2 separate regions of the Homo sapiens genome follow, and region 2 is linked to region 1. The links are contacts of gene promoters, found by promoter capture Hi-C in human tissues and cell types (Jung and others, 2019). All regions are on one chromosome and are shown on one strand. The core of a region is centred on a gene start or on the middle of the fragment in contact, and the rest is flanking DNA. Distances in the headings are between cores, read along the strand shown. Region 1 holds the start of RPL29 (ribosomal protein L29). Region 2 overlaps RAD54L2 (RAD54 like 2).

Region 1 (5,101 bases), core at 2,320-4,819:
CCTGTAATCCCAGCATTTTGGGAGGCCAAGGTGGGTGGATCACTTGAGGTTAGGAGTTCAAGACCAGCCTGACCAACATGGTGAAAACTCATCTCTACTAAAAATACAAAAATTAGCTGGGTGTGATGGCAGGCGCCTGTAATCCCAGCTACTCAGGAGGCTGAGCCAGGAGAATCGCTTGAACTGGGGAGGCGGAGGTTGCAGTGAACTGAGATCGTGTCATTGCACTCCAGCCTGGGCAACAACAGCAAAACTCTGTCTCAAAAAAAAAGAAAAAGAAAAGAAAAGCATGACAGGTCAGTGGCTCCAGGTCATGGTCCCCTTTGGCTCCTGGACAGGTCCCCTCAGGTCACAGCCAAAGTTCCTCATTCTTGTCACTGACTCCCCCTTGCCTAACAGCTGGGATTTAACTCTGGGCCAATCCCTAACACAGCCCCAGTGGTACTGCATGACCATCGTCCATCTCTGAATCTGCCTCCCCCGTCAGACCGTGGCTTTCTGCTCACTGCTTTTTCTGCCTCTGTCGTAACAGTCTAGCTAAACCAAGTCACTACTCACTTTTTAGGAGCTGCGGGAGTCGCTACCCAGCTGGAAGGCCACATAGCAGGGCAGCCTGGTTCTTTTAAAGTCATCACAGGCTGGACATGGATTACAGGCTCACGCCTGTAATCCCAGCACTTTGGGAGGCCAAGGAGTGTGGATCACCTGAGGTCAGGAGTTCGAGACCAGCATTGCCAACATGGTAGAACCCCGTCTCTACTAAAAACACAAAAATTAGCTGGGCATGGTGGCAGGTGCCTGTAATCCCAGCTACTCGGGAGGCTGAGGCAATAGAATCGTTTGAACCCAGGAGGTGGAGGTTGCAGTGAGCCAACATCGCGCCATTGCACTCCAGCCTGGGCAATGAGAGCAAAACTCTGTCTCAAAATAAATAAATAAATAAATAAAATAAATAAAAGTAAATAAATAAAGTCATCACTGCCCCCGCTGTCAGCCTCTACCCTGCTGGCTTCTCTTTCTCAAGGATGTGGCAGTCAGACCTCCTCCTCCCTGTCCCAGTCTCCACAGCCACCTCTTCAACTTCCTGAGCTGAAGTCCTGACTTGCTGTCAGGCATCACACCACCCCCACCTCCTGTAGCCCCTGTCTTTGCCCACCAGGTTCTCTACCTGTGCTCAGCACCCCACAGGGACTTTATTCCTGCAGAGACACTCTCCTCTGGGCTCAGCTGTTTCTTTCTTGGCACCAGATCATCCATCAGTATATAAGCCTGCTTTTCATTCTCCCAACTCACACCTGTCAGAATTCTCTCCCCTTTCTCAGGAATGCTTTGGTAATGAGTCATCCACATGTCCTGCCTCCACAACCTCCTTTCCGCTTCACTCCCTAAACCTCTGCAGTATGCGTCTGTCACTCCACGAACCTGGCTTGTCAAGGAACGTTCACTGGGCATGTGTTTATTAAGCTCTTGCTCTATCTACATTATGCTGAGTTAGGCAGTGGGAAAATGAAGGTGATCAAACCAGTCCCAAACTCTGGGCTCCTATGATAATGGACACATACACAACTAAGTAAACAATGCAATTAGAGTCTGGGAAAGTTCTATAAAGAAAGCAAACCATGGCCGGGCACGGTGGCTTACGCCTGTAATCCCAGCACTTTGGGAGGCCGAGGCGGGCAGACCACCTGAGGTCAGGAGTTCAACACCAGCCTGGCCAACATGGTGAAAACCCGTCTCTACTAAAAATAATTCTTTAAAAATTAGCTGGGAGTGGTGGTGTGCGCCCGTAATCCCAGCTACTCAGGAGGCTGAGGCAGGAGAATCGCTTGAACCCGGGAGGCAGAGGTTGCAGTGAGCTGAGATCGCACCACTGCACTCCAGCCTGGGAGACAGAGTGAGACTGTCTAAAAAAAAGAAAAAAAAAAAAAGAATAGAAAAGAAAGGAAACCATGAGAGGACACAGAATCACTGGTGAGATGAGGCAGTGGTTCTCTATTTTAGATAATGGAGTCCAGGGAGGCCTCTATAGGAAAGAGCACACCATCCAAAAAGCAGGGAGAAGGGCAGTCCAGGTGGCTGGGATAGCAAGTGCAAAGGTCCTGAGGCAGAACACACATTTGTGGTTGGCAGGAAAGAAAGGCAATGCGTTTGGAGAGAAGTAAATGACAGAGGTTGTCAGGGTCAAGTGGGTAAAGAATTGATCTTCAATGCAAGGGGATGTCCTTGCAGATTTAAGGGACAGGATCTGATTTGTATCTTAAAACAAGTCCCCAAGCCCCACTGCCGTGTGGAAAATGAACTATAGGGGGAAGAGGTGGAGAAGGCAACAGAGTTGTTAGAGGCAACAATTTCTCAATTCTGATGTCCAACAGGCATCTCACATTTAATGCATCCAACAAAAATATCTGGCTCATCATTCCCCCTCAAAACAAAACAAACAAAGCCCCTGCTCCCCACTCAATCTTCCATCTCTGTAAACAGCCCACCATTCACCCAGTTGTCAAGCCAAAGACATAGGGGCTATCCTTGCCTCCTTTTTCTCCCTCATCTTCTGTGTCCCAAGTCCAGTACTCTTTCTTTGTCCACTCCTCTGCATTCCCACTGTCCTCCCTCAGGTCCAGGCAGCCCTCTCTCCTTCCTCCCCTCTGCTCCTTCTCCACGAAAGAGTCAGGCGTGCTTTTCTTTTTTTTTTTTGAGACAGAGTCTCGCCCTGTAGCCCAGGCTGGAGTGCAATGGTGCGATCTTGGCTCACTGCAACCTCCACCTCCCAGATTCAAGCAATTCTCCTGCCTCAGCCTCCAGAGTAGCTGGGATTACAGGCACGTGCCACCACGCCCCGTGAATTTTTTTTTTTTTTTTTTTTTTTTTTTTGGATTTTTAGTAGAGATGGGGTTTCACCATGTTGTCCAGGCTGGTCTGGAACTCCTGACCTCGTGATCCGCCCACCTCAGCCTCCCAAAGTGCTGGGATTACAGGGGTGCTTTTAAGAACACAGATCGGCCAGGTGCGGTGGCTCACGCCTGTAATCCCAGCACTTTGGGGGACAGAGGCGAGCGGATCGCGAGGTCAGGAGTTCGAGACCAGCCTGGCCAACATGGTGAAACCCCGTCTCTACTAAAAATGTAAAAATTAGCCGGGCGTGGTGGTGGGCGCCTGTAATCCCAGCTACTCGGGAGGCTGAGGCAAGAGAATCGCTTGAAACCGGAAGGCGGAGGTTGCAGTGGGCCGAGATTGTGCCACTGCCCTCCAGCCTCGGTGGAAGAGCGAAACTCCGTCTCAAAAAAAAAAAAAAAGAAAAAGAACACAGATCTTCTTGCCCAACAACATCCCTCAAGGACTCCTTTCTTTTTCAGTATCTTGAATAAGACTTAAGAGACAGGTCCTGGAGAAACAGAGAAGGGAGGAGGCAGCCTGAAGGGGGCGGAGGCAAGCTCGTAGCACCGCCTCCACGTCTGGCTTGCGTTCTTCCGGGCTTCGGAACTTTTCTTCGCGGAGCCTGGGGAAGCTTTTCCAGTAGTACTTTCCGGCGTTGTTGACCCTATTTCCCGTGCTGCACCGCAGCCCCTTTCTCTTCCGGTTCTAGGCGCTTCGGGAGCCGCGGCTTATGGTGAGTGTTGGCCGCGCGGCATCCGATGCCATCCGCGACTTACGGGTGGCGGCGGGGCGCGGGCTGCGGAGAGGACTGGTGACCGACCGTGTGTCTGTCGGGAGCAAAAGCTGCGGGGTGGGAATGGTGCTTCTAGGTCCTAGGAGGGGGATGGCAGGGAAAGCCACTTTATTGGGGAATGCAGCTTTCCGGGGGTAAGGAGTTGATTTCAGGGCATCATTACCTGGGTTTGGGAGGCCAGGACTGGCGTTTGGTCGTGCAGAGTAAGCCGAGACTCGTGGAGGCTGCACATTCTCTGCCTGCAGGCTCATTCTGACCAGAATGGGGGGGGCAGAGGTGGCCCAGCCTGGCGAGCCCTTAACCCTGATCTCCACTTTTGTCTTCCAGGTGCAGACATGGCCAAGTCCAAGAACCACACCACACACAACCAGTGTAAGTTTTTTGGGCCCTGCCTACATCCCAGACCCTGGCAAGGACTGGTTCAGGCAAACTGGGACAGAGATGAAGGGGCACGTTTCCATTGTGGGCCTGAGGCTGATTGATTTCACCCAGTAATAACTTTAGGGTTTATAGGTTTAGAGATCTACTTGAGATACAGAGTGTTTTGCATTTAGTAGTAAGGGTTTCCCATATCTCAAGTGTAGCTGCTGTAGGAAGTGTTGGTTCTCCCAGACTTGCCAGCTGTGATGTTGGGTGGTCTTATTAGAGGAAAGTTCTTTGTTGGCTTAATTCCCTTTTTTTCTCCCACAGCCCGAAAATGGCACAGAAATGGTATCAAGAAACCCCGATCACAAAGATACGAATCTCTTAAGGGGGTGAGTGCACTGAATCACATGGAAGTGTCTTTTCTTGGTTCCAGGTGCACAGTCAAGGCCTCTCATGTAGTTTTTCTCTAGCTTTGGCTTCTGCCTGAGCACAGCCTAACTGGCCCACCCAAAGCCTGCAATTCCTTTTTCTACCCTACCAGACCCATAATAAAGCTTTCCTTGGTCTCCACAGCCTGAAGTGTAACCCTCTGGTCAGGGTGTAACCTGCCTCCTGAGGGCAGTTTGGCTATCTCCCTTGCTTGGCAGTGGCACTTAGGGTAAGGAGTGGCCTTGTCTGAGTGCGTGCAGGGCACATTCCCACACTGACCAGCCTTATGACCTCCATCTGACCCAGTGCTGGAGTTGGGGTCAGCTTCTCTTCCTGTGTCAGGGGGTTCTAAGGATTAGCTGAGAAGGCTGGAGGGTCTAGGGGAGAGCTGAGCATGTCCCCAGTCTGTTCCTTCCCTTTACTTTTGCTCTCTGTTCCGTGGAGTGAATCACAAACTCTGAGCCTCAGTTTCCCCATATCCCACCTTGGCTATAAGTCTTTTGGACCAGACTTGGTATTTAATTGACACCTTCTTCTAAAGAGGGGAGGGGGTGTCCCTGAGGGGATGTCAGGAAAAAACTTGGTCGAACCCCTGCTGTAGGAAGTTGAAGCCCCACAACCTTGGCAGACAGGGCAGCA
Region 2 (5,101 bases), core at 1,606-4,105, 400 kb after region 1:
CTGCCTTGGCCTCCCAAAGTGTTGGGATTATAGGCGTGAGCCACTGCACCCTGGCAAGAAAAGCCCTACTCTTGTCTTAGCTGAACATGGCTGTCCACAACGTAGGCCAAACAATTTGGATGAGCAGTGTGTTCTCAGAAGAAAAGGATGGTGGTGGCTCAGGATACCTTCTTGGAGAACCAAAGACCAAGGAAACCCAGCACAGGTAATAAAGTAAAAGCACTGGAGGAAAAGAACTGGGACATCCGGTTTTTCCTTGCAAATATTCACATACGAAAAAGGGTAGCCTAAAAGAAATGCAAGTGGTAGTGGGAAGGGGAATCTCATTATTAACTAAGATTTTACATATATCTAGAAAATAGCTGAAATTTTGGAGTGAAACTAGGAACTGGATCCATAAATCTGAATGAATAAGAAACATGAAGCTCTTGTTAAACAAAGAAAACATATTAAATTCTAAGAGTCTCCTTTACCCTCCAATCTTTAGTGCATATTCAAGCCCAGGTTTCTTCTTGTTATTTTTCTCCCATGTTTCTCTGCTGCAGGAGGACAAGAAACTACTTTGGAGAAATAATATTAGGATTTTTGCCATTTGTACAGACTGAAAGACCCTTGGACATCTCTCTTGGTCTGGGCTCCCTATCACGGACAGTTGACAGAGCCATCAACCATTAAGTAAGAGTCTACTGCAGGCTTAAAGAGTGAAGTAAGGCCGGGAGCGGTGGCTCACGCCTGTAATTCCAGCACTTTGGGAGGCCGAGGTGGGTGGATCACTTGAGGTCAGGAGTTTGAGACCAGCCCAGCCAACATGGTGAAACCCGTCTCTACTAAAAATACAAAAATTAGCTGGGCATGGTGACGCACACCTGTAGTCTCAGCTACCTGGGAGGCTAAGGTGGGAGGACCACCTGACCCTGGGGTGCTGCAGTGAGTCGTGATCACGCCACTGCACTCCAGCCTGGGTGATCCTGGGTGAGACCCTGTCTCAAAAAAAAAAAAAAGAAGACTGAATGAATGAAAGAAAGAAAAACTATTATATAAGGAAAGCCAATCCCAGAGGTATCACATTTTGAACCCCTACCTTTAATAACAACAGACCCTAAACGTGTTAACACCCAACTTTCCCTACCATTCTGAAAGAACAGAGAAAGCTAAGGACAGATATCAGGAGAAAAGAAAAAGAGGGGGATGAAAAACCAAATCCAAAATGTCTCACAACATGTCATGGGTCCTTTAACATGTTATAAACAAAAAACACTACCTTCTCCTCACTTGAAGGTTGGTTTGAAGACAAAGTCATGGTGCTGTTCTCCAACAGCCAAACCTCCGTGTTCTATAATAACCAGTTCTTGCACTACTATCCCACTACTCAACATACAAAGGTCAGTATCAAGGAGGAAACAATGGCCTGACTTATTGTACCAAAGCCAAAAATATCTTTCACTCCCCCATCCACTCCCTATCCTGTTCATCCCACCTTTGTAAAAGATCTCATGATCTTCCTGGGCTTTTACCCATCCCTCTTCAATCTGCCCTACAAATCCAGTAAGTCACCAAGTCCTATAAAATCCAGTGCAACAAGTCTGACCATTTACTCCTCTTGTGTGATCGACTGACACAAACAGTTCTAATCCTCATTACCCTTTCCCATAGAGTTCTACTACAGACCTAACTGATCCTCCCTGTCTACAGGCCATGTCTTTGATACAGTGCTAGAGTACCATTCCTGAAGTCAAAGGTCTGATGGATGCTCCTCAGTAAAAGGGCCCATCGGCCAGGCACGGTGGCTCATGTCTGTAAGCCCAGCACTTTGGGAGGCTGAGGCGTGTGGATTAATTGAGTTCATGTGTTTGAGACCAGCCTGGCCAACATGGTAAAACTCTGTCTCTACTGAAAATACAAAAAATCAGCAGGATGTGGTGGCGCGTGCCTGTAGTCCCAGCTACTCAGGAGGCTGAGGCAGGAGAATCGCTTGAACCTGGGAGGTGAAGGTTGCAGTGAGCCAAGATTGTGCCACCAGCCTGGATGACAGAGCGAGACTCCGTCAAAAAAAAAAAAAAAAAAAAAAAAAAAAAAAGCGCCCATCAATTCCATGTTGCCTATAAAACAAATTCTAAACTACTCCATGATCTAACCATAGGTCATCTCTCCAGTCTCACTCTGGTGATTACCCCTCTTGTGTCCAGTGCATTAACAAATAAGACGGCTCATCATTCCTTAGCATTTGCCATACTTTCCCTTCTACTTTGCCTTATACCTCCTGTTACTTCTAACTGTCCTTCCACCTCTGCTCAACAATAATTAACAATCACCTTCTTCCCTCAAAGCAGAAACTAGGAAAGAAAGCAAACACATCACAGGAAAGGCGATTATAAGAATCTATGGTCTCAGAAGCAGCATTGGTTTGAAAAAGGAGCAATGCCTTGAAGACCAAAAGTCCAGCTTTGCCAATTTCTTGCTAAGTTATACTGAGTAAGCCACTCACCTTTCTGAGCCCCAGTTTCCCCATCTGTAAAATGTATCTACCCTACCTAACATACAAGATTATCCAGACAATTAAGTATGGGCCGGGCACAGTGGTTCATGCCTGTAATCCCAGCACTTTGGGAGGCCAAGGCAGGAGGATCACCTGAAGTCAGGAGTTTGAGACCAGCCTGGCCAACATGGTGAAACTCTGTCTCTACTAAATACAAAAACTTAGCCAGGCATAGTGGTGCATGCCTGTAATTCCAGCTACTACTCGGGAGGCTGAGGTGGGAGAACTGCTTGAACTCAGGAGGTGGAGGTTGCAGTGAGCTGAGATCATGCCACTGCACTCCAGCCTGGGCAAAAGAGCAAGACTCCATCTCAAAAAAAAAAAAAAAAAAAAAAGAAAAAGAAAAAAGAAAGACAATTAAGTATGATAAAGTGTGTCAAAATGCTTATGGGGGGATGGAGCTAAAGCTTACAGGGAAAATTATACCTTTAAATGCTTATATAGAAAAAAAATCTAAAAATTAATGAGCTACGCACATTCTTAAGAAGTTTGAAAGAAAGCTTTAAATATTTACGTAGAAAAACATCTGAAAATTAATAAGCTACGCGCATTCCTAAGAAGTCTAAAAGAAAGGCAAAATAAACCCAAAAGAAACAGAAAATTAGAAAGTAGAAATTACAAAGAAAACAAACACAATACACCAAACCCAAAAGACAGTTTTTTGAAAAGAATAAGATTGTTCACATGCTTGTGTAAACTATGACAAACAATATAAAAGTAAGCTGTGGTTATCCAGTAGAGATGAAACTTCAAATAAAAAGGGCTGAAGTGGCCGGGCACAGTGGCTCACGCCTGTAATGCCAGCACTTTGGGAGGCCGAGACGGACGGATCACGACGTCAGGAGATCAAGACCATTCTGGCTAACACGGTGAGACCCCGTCTCTACTAATAATACAAAAAATTAGCCACGCATGGTGGTGGGCGCCTGTAGTCCCAGCTACTCAGGAGGCTGAGGCAGGAGAATGGCGTAAACCTGGGAGGAAGAGGTTGCAGTGAGCCGAGATCGCGCCACTGCACTCCAGCCTGGGCGACAGAGCAAGACTCCATCTCAAAAAAACATAAAAAAAAAAAAAAAGGGGCTGAAGTAAGTTTCTTTTGTGAAATGGTTTCTCAGATCTCAGTACTATTGACATTTGGGACAGATAATTGTTGGGGTGAGCTAGGGGCTCTCCTATGCATTGTAGGATGTTTAATAGCATCCTCAGCCTCTATCCACAAGATGACAGTAGCATCCCCACCCCACCCCCAACAATCCTGACAACCAGTGTCTTCACACATTGTAAACTGTTCCCTAAGAAGCAAAATCATACCAGGTTGAGAACCACTGCTCTAAGAAAACAAAAGGGCCACATCACACTACACCAACTAAAACTAGATTATTCATAGCTATTCTTACTAGTAGAATAGCTAGCTGCTCTGCCCATGACTACGGGATGGCAGCAAGGACAAGACTAAAGAAATAGGCAGGTTTTGGATTTTTCAGGAAAACTGCATAGAGTGCTCAACATGAGAGGAAAAGAAAAGCTTTAGGCCGGGTGTGGATCACGCCTGTAATCCCAGCACTTTGGGAAGCCGAGGCAGGTGAATCACCTGAGGTCAGGAGTTCAAGACCAGCCTGGCCAAAATGGTGAAACCCTGTCTCTACTAAAAATACAAAAATTAGCTGGGCATGGTGGCAGGCACCTGTAATCTCAGCTACTCAGGAGGCTGAGGCAGGAGAATTGCTAGAACCTGGGAGGCGGAGGTTGCAGTGAGCCGAGATCGCGCCATTGCACTCCAGCCAGGGCCAACAAAAGAAAAAAAAAAAAGCTTTAAGAGGTAAAATAGGGTCAAAAACACCAGAAGTAACAGAAGTATTACTTTTATTTTTGTGGCTCTAACACTGTAGTGAAATATAAAAATGGTCCTTGAGTCAAATTCCAAGAAGTCAGTTAACCTAGCAGAGCACAGCAGGACATAGGGCCTAATGGAACGTTTGTTTATCACTCTGAACTTCAATAAAAATGAGTCATTTTAAAATTTTAAAAAAGTATTTAAGGCCGGGCATGGTGGCTCACCCCTGTAATCCCCAGCACTTTGGGAGGCCAAGGCGGGCAGATCACCTGAGGTTAGGAGTTCGAGAACAGCCTAACCAACATAGAGAAATCCCGTCTCTACTAAAAATACAAAATTAGCCAGGCATGGTGGCAGGCACATGTAATCCCAGCTACTCAGGAGGCTGAGGCAGGAGAATCGCTTGAACCAGGAGGTGAAGGTTGCAGTGAGCCAAGATGGCGCCATTCCACTCCAGCCTGGGCAACGAGCAAAACTCCATCTCAAAAAAAAAAAAAAAAAAAAAAAAAAAAACACCAAAACCAAATTGCACAGCTACATTATTCTGAGACAAATCACAATTAAATTCTTGTCATTTCTAAATAAATAATAGTAAAGTCCGCAGAAGCATATCATATAATTTTTGAATAATTAACAATTTTACAAGGAAAAGGGAAAAGAGAATTCCAAGAAGCCAACAGGGAAGATAGTGTGTATATATCCATTACACTCACCAGAAGCATCTAAAATCC

What was found. Contacts are between HindIII fragments. The study calls those that stand out against the background at their distance.
Region 2: a fragment that was not itself captured here is called in contact with the fragment with the promoter of RPL29 in region 1 in 1 of the 25 tissues and cell types used here (thymus).

The regions. Positions count from the first base shown.
Region 1 is chr3:51,994,363-51,999,463 of GRCh38, reverse strand. RPL29 (ribosomal protein L29) reads left to right here and starts at 3,569. Exons shown (of 4, transcript NM_000992.3): 1 at 3,569-3,607; 2 at 3,995-4,039; 3 at 4,358-4,422. The coding sequence starts at 4,003. RefSeq lists an enhancer at 3,465-3,624. The HindIII fragment of the contact is 10,138 bases long and covers 1-5,066 here.
Region 2 is chr3:51,591,837-51,596,937 of GRCh38, reverse strand. All of the region lies in intron 3 of RAD54L2 (RAD54 like 2), which reads right to left. Among named protein-coding and RNA genes, the nearest start is that of RAD54L2, 56 kb to the right of the region's middle. RefSeq lists a silencer at 3,264-3,467. The HindIII fragment of the contact is 4,263 bases long and covers 724-4,986 here.